Regions from separate parts of the Homo sapiens genome. Here regions 1, 3 and 4 are each linked to region 2. Evidence: promoter capture Hi-C in human tissues and cell types (Jung and others, 2019). All regions are on one chromosome and are shown on one strand. The core of a region is centred on a gene start or on the middle of the fragment in contact, and the rest is flanking DNA. Distances in the headings are between cores, read along the strand shown. Region 1 overlaps ANO4 (anoctamin 4). Region 2 holds the start of UTP20 (UTP20 small subunit processome component). Region 3 overlaps ANO4 (anoctamin 4). Region 4 overlaps ANO4 (anoctamin 4).

Region 1 (3,199 bases), core at 500-2,999, 420 kb after region 2:
TTATCTTTGATCCATGTATCGGAGGAATTATGATTTGAATCTCTTAACTACATGAGATTATACATGCTAAAACTGTTTCAGTGTATTAGTCAGGACAGACTAGATTCTGCCACCATAACATTACTCCCCAAATCTCAGTGACTTAAAACAACAAAGGCTTCTTTCTTGCCCATGTCACCTGGCCATTATGAGTCAGCTGGTATGGGGAGGGTGCTCTGTTCACACTGTCACTTAAAGACTCAAGTTGATAGAGCAACTACTGTCAAAAATAAGACATCAAAATATGCTCTTAAAGCCACTGGCTTTTAAAGCTTCTTCTCAGAAGTGACACCTGTCACTGCCACTCACATTTAACTGGCTAAAACAAGTCAAGTCATATGGCCATATCCGAGTTCAGTGGAGTGCAGAAGAGCCTGGACCGAACTATACTAGCACGGAACGATACTGTACTATAGCCCAAAAAAGGAAGGGAGCCATATACTTGTGAACAGCCTGAAAGACTACCACAAAATGTAACAGAAATGGTAATGTGAAAGTGCCATTCTCTAATTTGTTTATTATGTTACTTTTTTGCCCTGAGACTTGACTTCCTCAAGCATTCCTCTTCTTCTCTGGCAGATAAAAATCCAGATACATAATGACTTCTTTTGTGAAAACCTAGTACGTGGCACTTCCCTGCTCCTATTTGGCAACTGTGGGAATCTTGCTTCCAATATATGTTTGAGTCACTCCTGTTGGGAGTAATTAGAAAATGAGGGAACTGGGGGTGGAAGCAGAAAAAGAAGCAGGGCAGATGGTAGAGTGGTTTTGCAATGAAGCTACTGGCAAGAAATAGGAAGCTGAGGGAAAATGGACCCCAAATCCTACTATGCCACTTCATATCTGTAAAAAGACAGAAAGCTAAATCTTATGAGAATTCTAAGTCACACAGGCATTAAATTTTTGAGTGGAGAACCAGGCAAAGAAAATAAAAACAAAAGCTCTTTTACATCAAAATATCTTTAAAAAGCAAAAGAAATCAAGAAGGATTTTTTTAAATTGAGGGAACTTAAAGTTTCTAAGAAGCAAAGGATACTAAGTAGAAATTAATTATACAATCCACACCCATATACATATAGATATTGCCAATCTTCTCTATTTGGTATGAGGCCTACAGTTTTATCTTAGACAGTCATGAGCCTCATAATGACGGACCACATATATGATGGCGGTCCCATAAAATTATAATATCATATTTTTACTGTACATTTTCTAGGTTTAGACACAAAAATACCACTGTGTTAAAGTTTTTTACAGTATTCAATACAGTAACATGTACAGGTTTACAGCCTAGGAGCAACAGGCCATACCATGTACCCTAGCTATGTAGTGGGCTATACTAGCTAAGCTTGTGTAAGTGCAGTCTTTCATGTACCCACAGTGATGAAATCAGCTAACAATGCATTTCTCAGACATATCACCATCATTAAGCAATACATGACTGTATTATTTATACAGGCTTTTATCACCTTCATTTAAGAAATCGCTCTTCCCAACTCATGAAGTCCTCAATATCAAATTCTCCTATCACCAGTGATAGAAATTATGTTTTCATACATATATCTCTGCTGAGGAATTAAATAGTCACATTTCATTTTCTTTTCTGGTTCTAGTGGTTTGATTTCAAATGAGGTTTGAATATTATCAATATTCAAATATTATCTTTGGTGGTTTGGTTTTGTCTTCTCACATTAACGTATTTAGTAAGAAAATTCTTTCAGAGTGATGTAGGTTATTTTATAATTTTGGTTTGAGGAGGCTGTAGTTCTATTACAAATTCAGAGGGCTTCAGAGGCAATCCAATTTCTTTCTTTCATCCCACATCCTGCCACTCCTCAAACACAGCGGATATAGAGGACTCAACTTCTTATTTTACATGGATAATTTAATGATGTCATTGTTTGACAGCTGAACCCAGAGAATCTCAAAGTGGCACCACACTTGTCTGCGTATCAGCTTCATGGGGAGGCAATATGGCCTGGAGTTTATAAATGAGGGCTTTGGAGTTGGCATGCCTCAGGGTTTGCATTGGAGTTAGTGACCGTGTGCAAGTAATTACATGCTCTGTGCCTTTGTTTCCTTGAGTAGGGATTATGGTAAGGATTAAGTCAGATCACGAATGTAAAGCATTTAACATCCTACATGGAAAACAGTGAGTACTCCATAAATATCAGTTGCTATTATTATCACCTAATGTTGTAATTATTCTGTACTAATGAGGTATACCATCCAAAAAAATATCTGATTCTGCTTTGTCTGTTGTACATTTGAGATTGTCCACTTAAGAAGGTTTTCTGAACATTATTAAATGCATTCTGTATATGTTCAAGCTTCTTAGCAACGAAGAGAAACCACTGAAAACTGGACAATGTGCATGGCCTCTGGCAGTGACCTCCAAATGTCCCTGGATGTTCTCTCAGGCATTTCAGGAACATTTGAGTCTCCATACGCCCCATGATGGTTTTTCCACTGCCACATGACACCACACTGCATGGCTTCTGCTGAAACAAAACCACTACCATCTTAAATCTTGATAAACTCACTAACTAGAGAAGAAAGAAGAAGTCTACCAGAGAATCATATTTTGCTCTTCTCTCCCTCACATCCTTACTCCCACATCCAGTCAATCAGAAAGTCCTGCCAAGTTTCCCTCTTAAATATTTTAAGATCCTCAGCAGCCCTAAAAAAATCAAGCCCATACTACTTACCATAGCAAACACCATCTAGCCCTGGTTTTATATCCTGCCACTCTCTGCCTCACATGTGATTCTTCCACAATGCGAAGCTGCTCTGATTCCCACATCCACCATGCTGATTCCTACCCCGTGCCTTTGCTCAGGCTGAAACTCCCTTCCCTCACCATGGGTGAGGTATACCTGGCAAGCTTCTTCCTATCCATCCTTTATGATTTAATAGAGCCACCATCTTCCACTCTTCATCCTTCTTGCCAAGCTGAAATAGCTTCCCCTCTTCTGTGTTCTCAAAATACCCTTTACTCATTTCTATCATTGTCTTATCCTGCCATTTTACAAATATTGATTTGTTTTTCCCCCAGCTGGCTACAGAAGTTGACCCTATACTGTATTTACTTTCTATCCTCCAAGCACTTACTACTGAGTTACAAACAGATGCTAAACAAATTTTTCTTGAAAAAGGGAGC
Region 2 (3,394 bases), core at 678-3,177:
AAAAAGACTTCTGCATAAAAGGATGACAAGGCCGGGCGTGGTGGCTCACACCTGTAATCCCAGCACTTTCGGAGGCCAAGGCGAGCAGATCACGAGGTCAGGAGATTGAGACCATCCTGGCCAACATGTCAAAACCCCGTCTCTACTAAAAATGCAAAAATTAGCTGGGTGTGGTGGCACGTACCTGTAATCCCAGCTACTCGGGAGGCTGAGGCAGGAGAATCGCTTAAACCTGGGAGGTGGAGATTGCAGTGAGCCAAGATCACGCCACTGCACTCCAACCTGGAGACGGAGCGAGACTCCATCTCAAAAAAATGAATAAATAAATAAAAGTAAAATAAAGGGATGACAGAGTCAGAGTATGGTTAAAACTGGAAAATATTATGTAGTCTAGCCCCTTTATTTTTATAAAGGAGAAAATTAAGCCCCGGGAAAAGGGCTTCCTCAAAATCACTTTAAAGTTATAGCTTCAGGAATATGGATCTGCAGCAGTGCTTGGAATGCATAAGGGAAAGGGAGAGGCTAGAATCACAAAGACAGCTGAAAGTCAAGTCAATTGTCTAATAGAGCTTCACCCAACAGAACTTTCTGCAAAGATGAAAATGTTCCAATTCTATATTTATTCAATATGTTAGCAACTAGCCACATTTGGGCACCCAAATTTTTAATTTACTTTAAATCCAATTTGTCATATGTGGCTACTGTATGAAACAGCACAGGTCTAAAGCATTTCATGTCCAAAAAGGAATACCTTGAAAAACAATTCACTTCTACTAACAGAAGAAACTAAAACACCATGAACACTTGAAGATTGACTAGTATCACATTCTCTTACCTCCTCATAGCTTGCAGTTCTATCAATCCGGTGAATAATATCAATATTAACATTCCCCAGTCGTTCAGCAAATGTAAGAAACTGGAAGGGAAAGTATATTTAAGATACATAATTAATTAAAATTTATCAGATCTTTAATATCTATTTGAATGCTGCATGTAGGCATCTCTAATCACAAAGGATAAGTGGAAAAATAAACTGAAAAACATACGGCCGTAAACAAATTTACTGCATCACTGTTCAAAGATAATGAATACTTCTATGTTTGCATAATTTCTCTCAGCTATGTCATTTCAAATAAAATTTCCATTGCCAGACTGGTGAGCCTAGGTGGATGCTGGCAATTAGTCTCGCTAGATCTATTAGGTTTCATACCCTCCCATAAGCATGGGGACCTAGCAAAGTCGCTGCAATAAAAGTGTTTTTAAACATATACAGACCTATGATTGTATCCTAAGGAAGACCTGGAAACAATCTATCAAGGGGCAAACAGAGAAAGCGCTGTATATTTGCCCTTAGCTGGGAATCACTCACCGCCAGCCGACTCGCCCAATTCGGTCTTTAAAGATAAAAGAGCAGGGGAGAATTGGTCCTAAGCAATCTCCTGGAATAGTGAATTTAATTCTGGACTACAGGAAATTCCCAGGACTGGCCAGACCCCATAAAACATGGGTGAAACTTGCTGTCCACACTTCTTTCCTCCTCCAACCCATGTTTACTACATCCAGTGTCTCCCTCTTTCGCCGGAGCCTCCAGGAAAGTGACACACTCGGCCCAGAAGTCTGAGGCCCCTGGAGTCTCGCTCAGAGCCTGTCTCACGACTGAGGCAGCGGAGACCCGCGGCTCCCTGCCTAAGCTCCCGCGCTCACCCGGTAGGTGTTCTCGGTCTTGTGGGAAACGGGCTTTGTCTTCATGGCTGCAGAGGGCCAGTGGCCCGCGACGGCCTCGGGAGTGTCGAAGGGATGCAACCGACAGTAAGGAGGGGAAAGCGGCTCACAGGCTATACTCTCCGATTCCCAGATGCCCAGACTTTCTCACGTGCGGCTTGAGCCCCTGGGCGCCGCCATGTTGGAGACAAGGAGGAGCCTGAGTGGGTCACGTGGACGGAAAAAAGAACGGCGCAGGCGCACCCTTTGGTGGGGTGGGGCCTACAGGAGGCGGGGCTGCGCACATAAGGGCGGGCGTTTGGGTGAGGTGTTCTTTTCACTCCCTTCGGTAAAGGTTTAGAAGACAAATGTATTTTCATTATAAAATAAAACATACCTGTAATCGTTATCAACTAACATTACTGTCCCTCACTACGTACCTGCATCGTGCAAAGATCCTTTCATCCATAATTTCACAGTAAAGCTTATTAGGGATGTTAATACAAAGGAGGTACTGCGTCTATCTATATATCTATATATAGATATATACTTTTTTTTTTTTTTTTTTGAGACGGAGTCTCACTCTGTCTCCCAGGCTGGAGGGCAGTGGCGCGATCTCGGCTCACTACAATCTCCGCCTCCCGGGTTCAAGCAGTTCTCCTGCCTCAGCGTCCAAAGTAGCTGGGACTACAGGCACCCGCCGCCACGCCCGGCTAATTCTTTTGTATTTTAGTAGAGACGGGGTTTCACCTTGTTGCCCAGGCTGGTCGCGAACTCCTGAGCTCAGGCAATCCGCCCGCCTCGGTTTTCCAAAGTGCTGGGATTACAGGTGTGAGCCACCGCGCCTGGCCGGTACTGTGTATATTTTTAAGCCAATTTGACACAAGAGGAAACCAAGGTTGTGCAGCTGGTAACTGGCAGTCTTCACTCAGACTCTAAATTTTGGTATTCTTAACCACTACGCTGTAAATAAAATTGAAAAATAGAGAAGGAGTTTTAAGAAAAATCTTTTAATTTCATGCACAACCGCTGTTAATGTTTGGTGTTTTTCCCATCACTTTAATGTCTACACATAGCATGTTGTTAAATTGTACAGTTATATATACATATATGTACAATTTTAAAAAATAATTTAAAAATATAATTATTTACCCCATTTTACATTCATTCATTCATTCAGCAACTATTTCTTGAGAGTCCTCTGTGGACCAGGTACTGTTCTGGGAGCCAAACGAGAAAGGCAATAATAGTATTAATTAATTATTTGAAAATATTCACAGCCTTCAATTCCTGGGCTAAAGTGAGCCTCCCACCTCAGCCTCCCAAGTAGCTAGGGCTACAGGCATGCACCACCACACCCAGCTCTTTTATTATTATTATTATTATTATTATTATTATTATTATTATTTGTAGAGATGGGATCTTGCTATATTGCCCAGGCTGGTATCAAACTTCTGGACTCAAGCAGTCCTCTTGGCTTGGCCTCCCAAAGTGCTGGGATTACAGGGGTGAGCCACCATGCCCAGACTGGAAATACTTGGTCTGAGATGCTTACATTTTAGTCAAGGAGTGATGTTAAGTAGACAATTGGATATATTGTTGTACAGAGCTCACTGTAGCAGTCTGGGCTGCAGACGTGACTTAAATACACCTAAATACCTCAAGTGTGAGGCATTTGCGACTGGGAAAGAGA
Region 3 (3,249 bases), core at 388-2,887, 290 kb after region 2:
CAAGTGATTCTCCTGCCTCAGCCTCCTGAGTAGCTGGGATTACAGGTGTGCACCACCATGCCCAGCTAATTTTTGTGTTTTTAGTAGAGACGGGGTTTCACCATGTTGGTCAGGCTGGTCTCAAACTCTTGACCTCGTGATCTGCCTGCCTCTGCCTCCCAAAGTGCAGGTATTACAGATGTGAGCCACAGCACTCAGCCTGGTTTACTTTCTCACAAAATCAGCAACCTTTTTTTTTTTTTTTTTAAATCCATCACCCTTTTCTTCCCTCCAGGTAAGTCATTTTTATGGAGGCTGTCACTACTGCTGGAGCAAGAGGGCCTGGAATTCCTGATCTTGTTGCAAGGGAGGTGGGGCTGACCTGATCTCTGCCTCCACTGAGAGGCTGTGTTTCTCCTATTGTTTACAGTCTCCAGCACACGGCAGGCTTTTCTGTCCTCCTGCCTGCCCTGCCCTGCATCCAGCCATCATTTCTTGTCATCTCAGAAGCTTCAGAGTAAATTCTCTTTCATTTTTGCAGTTCCTCACAGGCTCAGTGACTTAGCCAACTTGTTTTTCCTCCCCCCATGTCAAAAGTGACAAATAACCATTCTGAGACAATCTGACAGATGACTCAGCAAGTGGGCTGCCAGGTGATGTGGCTTTTCCTAAGGCAACCCAGTGAACTGCTGAAGAAAGGGGAACTGAGAAGTGAACCAAGATAAAACAAAAACCGGAAAACAAAAAACCCTCTTTTCAATGGGAAAAGGTGTAGGCCACTCCTCCTGTCTGCTGGCTAGATGCAGATGAGCCTGCAGGGGGCTCCGTGCACAGGGAGTTGGCAGAGCAATGAGAATGACAGAGCCTGGGTCACTGCCTTTCTGTGGAGAAGATCATTTACCCAACACACACATGAGCAAGCATTGTATCATCTTAAGCCACTGAGATGCAGGGATTGTTGGTTACAGCAGTTATCTTCCCCTGACTGAAATAAAAGGGATATGAACACTCACAAGACTTTTAGGGGAGAAGGGCACTATGCTGTTCCTTCCTCATGCCCAGGAATCAAAGGCGTGCAGGGTGAGGCTCTACCACAGCTGCACATCCTTAGTGAGATGGGGCTTTAACATGGAACACTCACTGATGGATCCTTTGCTGGCTGAAAGGGGCAGTGTAGCAGTCATTCTCCTCCAGGTCTGGCAGTGTCTCCTTGTCCAGCCTCATTGGCTTCTTAGGTAACCATCTCCGAAACCTGCTTATTTGTTTATCGATCCTGTGGTACATGGAAGGCAAGACCAAAGGGTACAGCATGTCAGCAATGCCCTGAAACACAGGAGGAAGGTCTCCGCAGAGCCACAACTATCATACCACACATTCCAGGCCCTCTCACTGCACTCAGGATATCCTTGTTTTATAGATGGAAAGAAGACAGCCAGAACTCTAGTGTTGTTTTGATTTCACCAAGTGGCCTCAATATTATTACTGTTTGTGAAATAGCAGCTGTGAGTTAGATGTCCACCCACATGCCAATAATAAATGACCAAGCAGTCCTAACAAGGCTGGAAAGCTCTGAAAAGGATTCCAACAGTCCCTTAAGCAAGCAGCAGAGATCTTAACTTACATTCTGTAGGTTCTAAAAAATTCATTTTGTGTTTGGAAAACATCTGAGGTCAGAGAAGAGCTCTAGCTGTAATTAACTTTCGGGAGGGGGTGCTGGCAGCACATCCTGGGAGTTGTGCAGAGAGCTCCATGCCATGATTTGCTTCCTGCCTCTCCCACCTCCCCTGAGCAGCCTCTCAGCAGGCAGCCGGATTTTTGGCTTTCATTGATCTCTTTTTAAGCAGGCTCCATGGTTCTCATGGTGCTAGGGCATCGTGACACACATGTGTCACTCTAATGAAGCCAAGTCAATGAAAACAACAGTATCCTAAAAGTGGTTTTCAGCTACAGTTTTCTCTCTGGCTATCTCCCTGGTCCCTCGGTTCCACTGACTTCTGCTGATGAAAACATCTGGCTTCCAAGTGAACAGTTCCCAATCACTGTTCACAGAAAAACACCAGAAGGCGCAAAAACCACACCAAACTTTAAAATGATAGCACTACCTCAAGTGTCTATACTACTGGAAAAAATACCTTCTAAATTTATTAACTGAAAACACGTGGAATTTGGTCATGCTTTATTTTTTTCCTAATTAAAACAATATATTTACATGGCAATGTATTCTTTTCAGTGAATGTTATGGCTAATTTACTGTGTCAACTTGGCTAAGTTAAGGGATGTCCAGATAGCTGGTAAACATTATTTTGAGGTGTGTCTGTGGGGTTGTTTCCTGAAGAGATCAGTGTTTGAGTTTGTAGACTTAGTAAAGAAGTTGGTCCTCACCAACACAGGTGGGCACCATCTAATCCATTGAGGACCTGAATAGGACAAAAAAGTGGAGGCAGGGTGAATTTGCTGTCTGCTTGAGATGGAACATCCATCTTCTCCTGCCCTTGGACATTGGCCTTCCTAGTTCTCAGGCCTTTACACTGGAAATGGGACTTACACCATCAGGTTTCCTAGGCCTCCTTCTTAAAAACTGCAGATTGCGGGACTTCTTGCTCTCCAGAATCTTATGAGCTAACCGTGCAAATCCTGATCCAAGTCTGAAGGCCAGAGAACCAGGAGCACTGATGTCTAAGGGCAGAAGAAGAGAGATGTCCCAGCTCAAGCAGCAGCAAATTCACTATTCCTCCATCTTCTAGTTCCACTCAATGGGTTGGATGGCACCCACCTGCACTGGGGAGGATCAGCTTCTTTACTAAGTCTACTGATTTGAATGCTAATCTCTTCTGGAAACATTATCACAGATGCACCCCAAAATAATGTTTTACCAGCTATCTGGGCATCCTTTAGCCCAGCCAGGTTGAACATATAAAATTAACCATCACAGTGAAACTCTCAGCTGAAGATAATATTATTTATATAACCAATCAATTCCAAACTAAAAAATAATGGTAAACTTCTCTTTCACTATCTCCTTTATTCTCAGCATTGTTCCAGCCTCACCATGATCCCAACTCTGCTTGGTGGTGGCTGTCCTTCTTCAGAACTCCCAAAGGGTCAAACTGAAAAGAATCTCACAGTGGCTCTAGGACCCTCCTCCCCAAGAGAACCCTCCGCCCCAAAAGAAATATACTTAAAATATAGTGAGATGATGGGCTTTAGAGAAGCAGCATGACACAGTGGTTGACAACATGAACTATGGGGCTGGAATGCCTAGATTCAAAT
Region 4 (3,135 bases), core at 475-2,974, 330 kb after region 2:
ACTGAGAAGGTATGGGGTCTTAGAAGCAAAGTGAAGGGTTGGCCTTACCAATGAGTATGGACAGGACACCCTTAGCACTGGGGAAGGGTGGCATTTGTGGGCACAGAGGCAGATAGGTGAGTCCATGCAATGGGAGATACTTGTGGTCATTCTTTTCTTATTGCTTCAAGGACATTTCTCTAAAAATTCTTCCTCCACTCTTTCCCAACATCAATTTTCCATCTCAAATATATAGTTTGTATTAGCATAAAAACATGTATTTATTTCTCCCATCTAAAATAGAAAGAACTCTTTATTGACCAAACTTCATACTCCAGTTATCATTCTATTTCTCTCCATTCCTTTACAGTGAAACATATTGAAAGAACTGTTTGTATTCGTTGTCTCTGTATTTTCTCTTCCCATTCTTTCTTGAAGACACTTTAATGAAGCTTTCACCCCTGACTTCTCCACTGAAACTTCTCTTGCCCAGACCACCCAAACCTGCCATATTGCTAAATCCAATAATTAACTTTCAGCTTTGATCGTACACACCCCATCAGCAGCATTTGACACAGTTGATTCCTCCATCTCTCCTGAACCACACACTCTAGATTTTCCTTCTAGCTCCTTGGTGACTCCTTCTTAGTCTCTTCTGCTGCCTCCTTTTTATCATCCAAATTGTAACACTAGTGTTCCCCATGGCTCAATCCTTGGACCTCTTCTCATTTTTATTTGCAGTTACTCCTTTGGAGATCTCATTCAAATGTGTATCTCTAGTCCAGATCTCTCCTTGAATCCCAGACTCTTCTATCTTACCCAACATCTCCATTGGGATATCTCAATCTTAACAAGTCTACAATTTGACCTACTCTTTTCCGCATCCCTGTAAGTGGCAACTGTCTTCTCCCAACTGCTTAGATAAATACCATGTGTCAGACAAATAGTCTGTGACTCTTCTTTTTTACACTGCCCATTCAATCTGTCTGCAATTCCCATCAGTGCTACTTTCTACTCTTCTCATCTTCCTCTCTTCTATGTGCTTGACCAAGCTACCATCATCTCTTTCCTGGATTCTTGCAACGAATCTCCTAATTATTCTCCCTGCTTCTGCCCTTGCCACCTCCACCCCTCACAGTCTAATCTTACCAGGCAACCCGAATGCCCTTATTAAAACAGAAAACAGATCTTATATTTCTGCTCAAATCTCTCCAGTGGCTTCCTATGTCACTCAGAGAAAAGCTAACATCCCCCAGTGATCACTAAGGCTTCCACTGCCTTGTTGGTGTAATTTCTCACTATTCTTCACCTTGCTCAGTGAACTCCAGTCATACTGGCATCCTCACTGTTCCATGAACACACCAGGCATGCTCCATCCTGTGGAGCTGTTCTCTTTGCACTTGCTATTCTCTTTCTGTGGAAAAGAGGCCCACTCTTGCTGACTTTTATAAAATTGCAAGCCCCTCTCAACACTTCCTGCTTTACTTTTTTCTCTTTAGCACTTACTGATATTTGTATATGTTGTACATATTTTTTGTTTAAGTTCCAACAAAGCAGGGATTTTTTTTTCTGTTTTATTTGTTGCTGCTGAGATCCTAGTCCTTAAAGCAATGCCTGGCATAGAGTGAGTGTGCAATAAATATTTTTTGAATGAAATAACCATCATCAAGATGATATGATTTACCTAATTATATTAGTTTTGTAAGGACTGTAATGATAAAGGTCTTCCCCAATGTTTCACATGATTCTGAAGCGGGAGGGTGCTCCATTAGTACAACTGTTACTCACACATTCCAAATAATTCAAAGTTAACTCATCCTCTTACTAGTTATACAAAAGAAAAGATAAATGTCTTATTGAGGACAATGATTTCAAAATAGGTATCCAAAGATCAATAATGGACATAGAATTAAAAATGAAAAAATCAGAAATAGAAAATGTTAATTAGTAAATATGAGCTTACCTTTAAGAAGGGAATCACTTTAAGTGGATAGATACTAAGAAGTAAATCACCTGGACTTCAATGATATTTTGTTTGGGAACTTTGTTGTGAATTGCTTTCTCTGGGCTATTATGAAAGTTGAATTGCAGAATATTAAAGACCCAGGGTACCAAAGCAAGCACTTATGTGTTGACTAATCAGCCTGGAGCAAAGGTTTTAAGAAAGATTAAACTTGACTATGTCCTCACTTTTATCATGAATTAAAGATTATCCTAGTTGTGTTTCTTGAAATTCAATGTTAAAGAGATAAGGATGTTAAACTGAACTAGAAAGCCTGTCTTTGTCTATTTGGAAACATAAGCATCTGTCTGTGAAACATGTTTTTCATAATTGTTAGACATCATGACAACAGCTAATTAAGAAGATACTAATAATTCATAAAATGTGCATAGTGTCAAACGTTTCAGATATACAAGGGTCCCTAGGGTGTTTCTTCTTTTCCACCCTGAACTAAGTTCTTCATTTTATGTCCTATAAAAGGTTGAATTAACTCCTGGAAGCTGAAATCGCCATTAAAATTGTCTTTCTGCTGTAGCTGCTTATAAAAAACTTGATTTAAATAAAAATACTTCCAACGGTTTCTAAATTTAATAATACAATGTAGATACTTCATATAAAAATTCTGCCACTTATTATGAGAATAAAGGATGAAGGTTTGTTTACTGTTCAGCCAAGGGATATTTTCTTTTAATTATTTATGGCAGGGAAAAATTAATTTATCTATAAGAGAACCTGCAAAGGCCCTTTTCTTGCTGAGCTGACTGAGTCCACGAAGATGCAAAGCAGAGCTGGGAGGCTGCATTAGAGAGAAATTGCACCATTTATGCAAAGTCAGGGCAAGACTCGAGCCAGGCAGCGGGAGAGGTCACTTGTGAAGAAGGTTCCAGAAAGGGGAAGACCTAACTGTTTGTAGTGTCTAAAAGATTGTGGAGGAAAGGAGAAATATGGAAGGTGATGCCCAGAGAAGAACTTTTGGGGGAAAGTGGGGAGGGGGGAAATGCTTAGATAAGTTTTTATGATGTTTTGCCATATAGTGATAATTCCCTTTTTCCAATTGCTATTTTTTCCAGTACACATTAAAATAAATACCTGTTAAAATTTTTTTTTTAAATTCCAACAAACAAAACTATCTTGTATATAGACAAAATCGTACA

Evidence for each region. Contacts are between HindIII fragments. The study calls those that stand out against the background at their distance.
Region 1: a fragment that was not itself captured here is called in contact with the fragment with the promoter of UTP20 in region 2 in 3 of the 25 tissues and cell types used here (bladder, mesenchymal stem cells and thymus).
Region 3: a contact is called between a fragment that was not itself captured here and the fragment with the promoter of UTP20 in region 2, in 2 of the 25 tissues and cell types used here (dorsolateral prefrontal cortex and lymphoblastoid cells).
Region 4: a fragment that was not itself captured here is called in contact with the fragment with the promoter of UTP20 in region 2 in 2 of the 25 tissues and cell types used here (mesendoderm cells and thymus).

What each region holds. Positions count from the first base shown.
Region 1 is chr12:100,856,390-100,859,588 of GRCh38, reverse strand. The region is part of intron 1 of ANO4 (anoctamin 4); the gene reads right to left. Among named protein-coding and RNA genes, the nearest start is that of ANO4, 63 kb to the right of the region's middle. The HindIII fragment of the contact is 3,862 bases long and covers 1-3,199 here.
Region 2 is chr12:101,278,638-101,282,031 of GRCh38, reverse strand. It overlaps UTP20 (UTP20 small subunit processome component), which reads right to left and starts at 1,927. Exons shown (of 62, transcript NM_014503.3): 1 at 1,705-1,927; 2 at 836-916. The coding sequence starts at 1,749. RefSeq lists enhancers at 1,854-1,903, 1,637-2,228. The HindIII fragment of the contact is 9,089 bases long and covers 1-3,394 here.
Region 3 is chr12:100,985,542-100,988,790 of GRCh38, reverse strand. It overlaps ANO4 (anoctamin 4), which reads right to left. Exons shown (of 28, transcript NM_001286615.2): 8 at 1,121-1,252. Among named protein-coding and RNA genes, the nearest start is that of ANO4, 190 kb to the right of the region's middle. RefSeq lists enhancers at 1-446, 1,499-2,024. The HindIII fragment of the contact is 9,616 bases long and covers 1-3,249 here.
Region 4 is chr12:100,944,329-100,947,463 of GRCh38, reverse strand. The region is part of intron 5 of ANO4 (anoctamin 4); the gene reads right to left. Among named protein-coding and RNA genes, the nearest start is that of ANO4, 150 kb to the right of the region's middle. The HindIII fragment of the contact is 4,136 bases long and covers 1-3,135 here.